Linked DNA regions of Homo sapiens: region 2 is linked to region 1. The links are contacts of gene promoters, found by promoter capture Hi-C in human tissues and cell types (Jung and others, 2019). All regions are on one chromosome and are shown on one strand. Each heading gives the region's core, a stretch centred on a gene start or on the middle of the fragment in contact. The rest is flanking DNA. Distances are from core to core; before and after follow the strand shown.

Region 1 (4,746 bases), core at 1,602-4,101:
AAAAAAATGTTTTTTTTCTGGATACTACATACCCACAATGTATTAGACAAATTTTTTTAACGCCCATGAATATTTGCACAAACACTCATTTTCTTGACAACCTAGTTTCCTTTTAAACCCGTTTGGATGGAAGTGTCAACCTCTTCCCAAAATTTCAGATGGAAAGGCTTAGGAGTGAAGAGTATATGATTTAATCAAACTTTACAAGTAAAGTTGCCTGACCAAAGAAAATATTATATTTGCTTAAAAATCAACTCTCAACTATTTGTGCTAATGCAAAGGGCAGTGTTGTAAATAATCCAAGAGGTATTGTTTTCCCATAGACAAAAAACTGCTCCCTTTTGGCAACTAATAGCTACATGACTTAAGTAAAATATTTCTCATCTCTAAGCATCAGTTTCTTTGTCTGTAGCATAGGGTTCTTGAGTAGGTGCAATTTCTGTTTTCTTTGATTGCTAATACTCTGTGATTTTATGTTGAAGGTTTACCATTTTGGGCCAGGCGCGGTGGCTCACGCCTGTAATCCCAGCACTTTAGGAGGCCAAGGCGGGTGGATCACCTGAGGTCAGGAGTTCAAGACCAGCCTGACCAACACAGTGAAACCCCGTCTCTACTAAAAATACAAAATTAGCTGGGTGTGGTGACACATTCCTGTAATCCCAGCTACTTGGGAGGCTGAGGCAGGACAATCACTTGAACCCAGGAGGCGGAGGTTGCAGTGAGCCTAGATCGCGTCATTGCACTCCAGCCTGGGCAACAAGAACGAAACTCCATCTCAAAAAAAAACAAAACCTTTACCATTTGGACATCGCCCCTACCCCTTAATGCTTCCCTTGGGTCTGTGTTCAAGTCAGACTGCCTGCTCTGAGCACAGTGCAACTGGTGCTAAAAGGAGAGACACCACTAAGTAGGGAAGTATATTAGCTGAAGTCGACAAATTTGGCCTATATAATCCACATGTGAATTATCTACAGGTGGCTAAAAATTGGAAAATTGAGAGCAGACTACAAATGTATGCCATATAGGAAACAGGTGAGACATGACTAACTCTTCTTCCTGCACGACCCCCAAGATCCATTTTTGCACACAGGTACATTTCAAGCCTTGAGAGGAGTATTTACAACTCTCATTTATGTTTAATGCCTTGGTAGAATAACAAGCCATGGTTCAAGTTTACTAAACACATCTACAGAAAGAGACAATGTCTTCTAAATTAGAGAATCATCCCACCCATAAATGGGGGGTTCTTGGAGAGGGGGGTAGGGGAGACAGACATTTCTCACCTGGTTGCATGATCCTTGGTTTTGCTCCTAAGTATGCCAGGTTCACGTTGGCCTTTCTGCCATCAATGATGGGATTGGGATCCTTGCAGGCCCTTTCGGCAGCAGCCCGGTCAGCCATGGTGACCTTAGCAACAGACACACACAGACATACATACATAACCTCTAAATTAACCCATGAAGGAAATCAAGAATCACAATGGAGAAGTCATTCATGATAAAACTGAGATCAAACTTTTTTTCTATTCTTTGCTTCTTTTGGCTGGACCCTCCTCCTTGATCTCCCATTTTTAACAGGCGGGCGGGGGCGTGGGGGGGGGGGGCGGGTAGACGAAGGAAAAAAGAAAGAAACCCTCTAACCCTGCCTCCCCCCACCCCACCGCCGAAATCTTAAGGGTGTTAGTAGGGCCTAGCCGAGATTTGGAAGCCTAAATTCTTGGAACTCTAGATCCTCCTTCCCCCGAATCCCCCGCCCCCCAGGTCCCTACTCAGCCTCAGAGGCACCGTTTGCTTTAAAGAAAGTCCAGCCTTACATCCGCCCAACGCTCCCAACCTCGAAAACACTCCCCAACGACAATAGCTATTGTCCTACTCTGGGGCTCCCTGCTCTTCGGCAGCTGAATTTGCACGCTTAAATCTCTAGGAAGGAAGCTTAATATGCTCTGTTTCAGTTCGGCAAAGAGCCCTAGGATCATGATTTAAAAGAACCTACCTTTGCAGTTAAAAGGCGGGGGGATGACACAAGGGCAACAGCCCCAGACCTCGTGGGGTGTCCCCTCCCTGCCCCAGCCAAAACACCAGAACACACGCATTTTTACAAAGCAACAGCGCGCTTAACAACCGGCATCCAGCCCGGGAATGCAATTGTTCAGGGTTGCGGCCCCTCCCTCGCAACCCTCCGCACCCCAAATCCCGCCGTCATTACAGGTCTCTCCTTTCACCCCTGCTCTGCCCTGCCCGGCCCCCGACCTCGCACAGCGCTGGGTCTTCTCCGAACCCCGCGAGGCTGGCGCCGACCCTCTCCCCTAGCAAAGTTTCAGTTCACCCCGGAGCGAAGGGGCAGCGCCGCTCTACCCGCGGGGCTCCTCACGGGTCACGCCGAGCCCCTCACTCCAAGCTCCCGATCCCCGGGGTCAGCCGCCACTCCGTCCCTCCCCGTCACCCCCAGTCCGTGCAACTTACAAATCCATAGCCCCGGGACTTGCCCGTCTGCCGGTCGGTGATGACCACCGCCTCCTCGATCTCGCCGAAGACCTCGAAGTACTTGCGCAGGCTGGCGTCGGTGGTGTGGTAGGGCAGCCCCCCGACGAAGATCTTGGTGTACGTCGTGTCCTTCTGGGTCGTGTGCATCTTCGCACCCGCCCCGCGGCTCGGGCTCCGGCTGCGGCTGCGGCTCGGGCAGCGGCTGCGCCTCCTCCTCCGGCTCCGCGTCTCCCGCACCCTTTCGCGGCCGCCGGGGGCCAAGGGCGAGCCCGGGGGCGAGGGCGGCGGCGCGGCGGGGGCGAGCGGCCGGGGGCGGCCGAGAGCGCCGGGCGCGCGGCTTCCGAAGTCGCCAGCGGCCCTGGAGACTTGACTTCGCTCTCTCCTCCCGCCCCCCCTGCCGGTCACCGTACAAATTCTCCGGATCGTCTGGATTAGAATCGGGTTCTATAGAATGTGCAAGCGGTTTCCACTCACCCGGCGGGGAGGCCAAAAATGAAAAGAGAGGGTAGTTCTCAAGCGAAGAAGCGGGTGCTTTAGAGGTAGATTTTTCTTCCTTAGGAATCAGGTGCCTTGGGTGGGGTGTGGGGAGGGTCCGCGGGAAGAGCGTCCGAGCGCCGAAGCGGGCGGGGGGCGCGGCGGCGGGGCCAGGGGCGAGGAACTCCGCGCAGCTTCGGCTCTGGTCTGTCCCTCCCGCCGTGGGATCTGGAAGACGAGTGCCGAGGACAGCTCTCCACCTCTCTGCTCCCTTCCCCCGCGGGCCGGGGGTCGACGCCCGGCTGGGGAGGGGGGCGGGCCGGACGCCTGCGATTGGCCGCGGCAGCACCTGGGGCGCCGGGCGCCGCCGCCCCCCAGCTGTTGGGAACAGCTGCTTCTCTCCCCGCGCGGCGCGGCGCTGGGGCTCGGGGCTCCCGCTCTGTAGCCGGCGATGGGGTAGGGCTGGAGACGCCTGTAGGCGGCCTGGCTCTCGGCGTCGCCTGCTCTAACCAGTCAAAGTCTTAGGGACCCGGCGCAGCACCAGCCGGGACCCAGGGTGCGGGGACTGTGCCCAAGGAGGAAGCTGCGTTGCTTTCCAGAGGGGACGACGCGAGCTTTTTGGGTTAGGCCTCGGTGACAGGGCCGGCGACCTGGACTGGCGAACTGGGGTCCCCAGAGGCCTGGGGCGATTCGCTGAGAGGCCAATCCCCTCCCGGGCGCGGGGGGTCAAGGAGCTCGGCCGAACGAAACCCAAGCTGGACACCCTGGGGTCTGAAGAGTGAGAAGGAGGGCCCCAACTTTCTTTGGCCCCAAAAAGCCAGTGCGGGGAAGTATCAGAGAGGTAGAGCCAGAAGGAAAAGAAAGATCTAGCGCTTGGGTGTAGTTGGGAAAACCATTAGCTTTAATTGCTACCGCCCAGCCAAACCAAGTAACCGGAGATACCTATGTCCATCAGGCACCGCCTTCTATTTCAGAGGACCATAAGTTAGTATTTTAGCCCCCACAGTCACCAAATTTGTCTTTCCTCCCTAACTTAGTTATTCAGGAAGATTGGTACAGATGTCTTAGCATAAGTCGTTCTTTTTTTTTTTTTTTCCCTAAACAAAGAATTAATCTATTTCTTTCTCTTTGAATTACAAGAATGTTTAGTGGCTTGACCTCATCTGTTTTTATCTGGATGTAAATGTAAAAGGTATAATTTTTGAAATCAACTTATTGCATAACCAGTGGTTTCTACCAGCAGACCTGAAAGCATTTGTAGAACATAGGGCACCCCATATATATTTATTACTTTACATCAGCTTTTTGCAACTTCTTTTAATTGAGAATTCATTCAATTAGGCCTTAAAATCAATCAGTCATACTTGAGGTTTGGATGAAAATATTTGATGTGAGCAGAAGGTTTCATCCACCATTGTTGGTGCACAATTGCCTTTTAAGTCCTTTCTACGGGAGTCTACAGTCCCTACATTAATCGCCCCTGAGCCGCACCATTTATTCCATTAAAACAATTCAGTATGTTAACCGTTAGAGAGGTGCATACTCTGTTTCTCTCCAGGACACCTTTGCAGTCAACCCAAGAGGGTGAGAAATGTTGCATTTGCAAAGGCTAATGGGAATGCAAATATTCTTGTGCAAAACATTAAATTCCGTTTTTCATCTTGCTGACTTCCTCATGAGGTTGACTTTTTGACGTCACTGGTTTCTTTAAGTTTGAACCCCCAGTGGGAGATATAGAGAAATCAGAAATCTATTAAAGTTAAAAACATTTTTTTCACCCGATTAAAAA
Region 2 (4,957 bases), core at 1,924-4,423, 1.0 Mb before region 1:
CTTGTTTTGACCAATGGCCTAAATGACAATGCAGCCAGTCGTAAGCAGAGGATTTAGGAAGCATTTCAAGGCTCAGTCAGCCCTACTGCCCACCATGAGAACCTCACATCCCAGAGAGGAGCTGCTCTCTTCCTTCAGCCTGGGTCTCAGAGTGAGAAGGTACACAAGGTCTACTTTACATGACCTTGGAGCAGAGACACTGCTCTCCACCTGCAGCCACTGACGTGCAATGTGAGCAAGAAATCGGGATCGGCTATTAAGTCACTGCCGGGGTTCGTTACACTGAATTATCAAAGCAGAGACTGATCAGTACAGCCAGCTGAAGAGAGAATTTGTGAAATTAAAGATAAAGCTGAAGAAAGCCCAGGGCACAATACAGAGGGAGAAAAATTTAATGGGAAATATATGAAGTTAAGGAGCACAAAAACAGAATTTCTAGTAACACTTATAATAAATCTAAGAGTGTAGACTAGAGAAAATAGGGGGTGTATTCATTTTCTGTATCCATGAAACAACTTAGGACAAGTTGTTTCATGGCTACAGAATTCTAGAGCAGGACTTAGTGGCTGCTCTAGAGTCCCGGTCTCATGGCTCTCACAAAATGGCTTGCTTCTGCAAAGCCAGTGGGAGAGCTGCTTTCCAGTGAGCTTTGACAGAGTCTTATGCGATGTAATGTAATCATGGGAGTCACGCCATCCCATGTCTTCACACCCATCATCTTCACAAGTCACACTCACACTCAAGGAGACCCTTCCTTTACAGGGTGTAGATACCAGCAGGTAGGAATCCTGGGCCACACCTTGGCATTTTACCTACCACGGGGAAAAAGCAATAATAGAAAATGGACTATGCCTGGCCACGCGCGGTGGCTCACGCCCGTAATCCCACCACTTTGAGAGGCCGAGGCGGGCGGATCACAAGGTCAGGAGATTGAGACCATCCTGGCTAACACTGTAAAACCCGTGTCTACTAAAAATACAAAAAAAAATAAATAAATAAATAAATAAAAATTAGCCAGGCGTGGTGGCAGGCACCTGTAGTCCCAGCTACCGGGAGGCTGAGGTAGGAGAATGGCATGAACCCGGGAGGCGGAGCTTGCAGTAAGCCAAGATCGTGCCACTGCACTCCAGCCTGGGTGACAGAGCGAGACTCCGTCTCAAACAAAAAAATAAAAAAGAAAGAGAAAGAAAATGGACTATGCCTGAGGCATATTCTAGCACTCATGCTCTTACGACTATACTAAAGGATAGCAGGCATTCAGCAGCACACCAGGGCAACACGGCATTGCCCTTAGAATTCTACAGGCACAGGAAGGTTTTACACTGGAACCACAGAAGGCTGAGTCATGCCTTCGTGCCCAGTCGTCATCTTTCTTCCATCTTTCCAGGCCAATCTAATAGCCTACCTCTGGGTCCAAAGTTCCACTTCTATGAAATAAATTGCATGTGTTCCCCACCATTGTAAACATTTTATGTGCAACTCACACGTGTTTTTCAAGTTGTCTTTTCAACTTTTAGGAACACATTAATAGAAATGTTATTTAGATTGTCCCTTTTCACTCCTTTGCCATTAAAAGACTTCGATTGAGTAATAATGTTGCAAATTCTGGGAAGATAATCTAAAAGCTAATTTAAAGCCCTTTTAAAATTCCTAAAAGCTGAAAAGAGAAAGCCATTAGCATTCTTGTTTATTCTACATTTTATTGGCTAATGGGCATCATCTTTATTGTTTTACAGGAACACACACATTTGTTTTGTTTTGTTTTAATTGATCAGTAGCAGAATACAAATGGTGAACAATAAATCTTAGCTGTTTATTGCTTCTGTGATTCTCTGGAACAGAAGGAGAAGAATGTCTTATGTGCTTATTACACCCAGGCAATATCTCAGATCATTTCCCCAGCTGTAGAACAGATTGTAAACCTCATTTTAAAATTACCTAATGTAGGCCAGGCACAGTGGCTCACACCTGTAATCCCAGCACATTGGGAGGCCGAGGCAGGCAGATCCTTTGAGCCTGGGAGTTCAAGACCAGCCTGGGCAACATAGGGAGACCTCATCTCTACTAAAAATTTAAAAATTAGCTGGGCATGGTTGTGTGCATCTGTAGCTCCAGCTACTTGGGAGGCTGAAGTGGGAGGATTGCTTGAGCCTGGAAGACAGAGGTTGCAGTGAGCCAAGATCATGCCACTGCACTCCAGCCGGGGTGACAGAGTGAGACCCTGTCTCACAAATAAATAATTTATTAAATAATTTTTAAAAATAAAATGACCTAATGTAGGCCAGGCATGGTGGCTCATGCTCATAATCCCAGCATTAAAGGCATGAGGATTGCTTAACCCTAGGAGTTCAAGACCAGTCTAGGCAACATAGGGAGACCCCTATCTCTACAAAAAATTAAAAAATTAGCCAGGCATGGTGGCACATGCCTGTAGTCCCAGCTACACAGGAGGCTGAGACAGGAAGATCGCTTGAGCCCAGGAATTCAAGGCTGCAGTGAACCATGATAGCACCACTTCAGTCCATCCTGGGCAACAGAGCCCCATCTCAAAAAATAAATAAATAAATAAATAAGTAAATAGGCCAGGCACGGTGGCTCATGCCTGTAATCCCAGCACTTTGGGAGGGGCCAAGGCGGGCGGATCACGAGGTCAGGAGTTCCAGACCAGCCTGGCCAATATGGTGAAACTCCATCTCTACTGAAAATACAAAAATTGGCCAGGTATGGTGGCACGTGCCTGTAGTCCCAACTACTTGGGAGGCTGAGGCAGATGAATCGCTTAAACCCGTGAGGTGGAGGCTGCAGTAAGCCAAGATCGTGCCATTGCACTCCAGCCTGGGCAACAAGAGTGAAACTCCATCTCAAAAAAAAAAAAAAAAAAAAGTAAATAAATAAAATTACCTAATATATACGTAAACTGATTTAAATGCTCCTAGCATCATTTTAAGAAATAAAAAGTTATTGTGACATTTCTGTGAATACGTTTAATTCATAAAATAGCCATCTCTGCCCTTCTCTTCTATCCTTTTGCTAATCATATATCACTGAAAATCTATAGATGGTTTTACATGACTATTATACCGAAGGGGTCTGTTTTCTCCACTGTCTCTTTGTGATGATTAATATTATGTGTCAACTTGACTATGGGATACCCAGATAGTTGGTCAAACATCATTTCTGGATATATCTGTGAGGGTGTTTGTGCAAGAGATTATCATCTGAGGCCGGGTGCGATGGCTCACGCCTGTAATCCCAGCACTTTGGGAGGCCATGGTGGGCGGATCATTTGAGGTCAGGAGTTTGAAAGCAGCCTGGCCAACATGGTGAAACTCCATCTTTACTAAAAATACAAAAATTAGCTAGGTGTGGTGACAGGTGCCTAATCCCAGCTACTTGGGAGGCTAAGGCAGAAGAATCGCTTGAACCCAGGAGGCAGAGGTTGCAGTGAGCCGAGATCATGCCACTGCACTCCAGCCTGGGTGATGGAGCAAGACTCTGTCAAAAAAAAAAAAAAAAAGAGAGAGAGAGAGATTAACATCTGAAGTTTGAGTAAATCTGAGTAAAGAAGATCCGGGCAGGGTGCAGTGGCTCACGTCTGTAATCCCAACCCTTTGGGAAGCTGAGGTGGGCAGATTCCCTGAGCCCAGGAGTTAAAGGCTGAAGTAGTCCACCCACCTGGGCCTCCCGAAGTGCTGGGATTACAGGCGTGAGCCACTGCAGCCAGCTTGCCATGACTTTTCTAATTATTCTTAAATGATGAAAACACTTCAAGTCACCCCAAGTCCAGAAAATCAGTCACAGTTTTGTAATCGATGTGTCCAATCTAATATAGCACTCCAACTCTTCCAACTTGATGTGAAGTTAAACCTCTCCTCCTCCTTCAGCTGTGGCCTGCTGAATGAACGAACGCCAGCCACTTGTACTGGGGAAGGTAGACATGGGAAGATTGTATTCTCCTTAGCTAGATTGCTAATTTAGGCAACCCCAGTTTCTGATACTAATCCCTCATTCTGGGGAAGCGGTAGGGAGAGGAAGAGGCAGAAGGAAAGTTCTTCCTTGATTAAGACAATTGCAATGACCTAAGGCTGGTGATCTACAGGCTTGGTGGGCATTTAAAGCTTACTTCGGGCTGGGCGCGGTGGCTCACGCCTGTAATCCCAGCACTTTGGGAGGCCGAGGCGGGTGGATCACAAGGTCAGGAGTTCAAGACCAGCCTGGCCAAGATGGTGAAACCCTGTCTCTACTAAAAATACAAAAAAATTAGCCGGGCGTGGTGGTGGGCGCCTGTAATCCCAGCCACTCAGGAGGCTGAGGCAGAGAATTGCTTGAACCCGGCAGGCGGAGGTTGCAGTGAGCAGAGATTGTGCCACTACACTCCAGCCTGGGCGACAAAGCGAGACTCATCTCAAAAAATAAATAAATAAATAAATAAATAAAGCTTACTTCTTCTCTTGAGCCCAGGTGGGATGGTAGTGGTGGAGATGGGAAGTTGGGAAGTAGAGACGCTCCCAGCCCACTCTCATCACTGGAGATATTTCACCTGCAGATTGCTTTCTGCAGATGGTTACTTATGGCTGTTTCTTGCTGGGGTCCAAAAGGCATGCTTACACATGATTTGAGATGACCCCAGGCCCCGTCAGTGACCTGTGTGGTCTACCTTTGGTCTCTGGGAAACAACTCTGTGCTCTATCAAACTATAAGACAATGTGCTACATCTCTTTTGCTCCACCATCAGAGGAGCCAGCCAGCAGGTCTCTTGTTCTTTAGATTTCTCAGGCATGCATACTGGTCCACTATGCCTTTCAATCTGTGGGGGGATGCACATTAAGTACTCCAAATGGTCTGCATAAAACTCCTATCTCTAGATGTAGGTTGAAGGGGCAAGGACCTTACACCCCTCTCCCATGGTGGCCAGGAGGGAGGGACTCAAGCCCATCATCAACTCTCTAAAAATCAT

Evidence for each region. Contacts are between HindIII fragments. The study calls those that stand out against the background at their distance.
Region 2: a fragment that was not itself captured here is called in contact with the fragment with the promoter of RBM24 in region 1 in 1 of the 25 tissues and cell types used here (stomach).

The regions. Positions count from the first base shown.
Region 1 is chr6:17,279,466-17,284,211 of GRCh38, reverse strand. RBM24 (RNA binding motif protein 24) reads right to left here and starts at 2,851. Exons shown (of 4, transcript NM_001143942.2): 1 at 2,463-2,851; 2 at 1,284-1,407. The coding sequence starts at 2,630. The HindIII fragment of the contact is 10,579 bases long and covers 1-4,746 here.
Region 2 is chr6:18,290,110-18,295,066 of GRCh38, reverse strand. No RefSeq gene overlaps it. Among named protein-coding and RNA genes, the nearest start is that of DEK, 28 kb to the right of the region's middle. The HindIII fragment of the contact is 3,481 bases long and covers 1,433-4,913 here.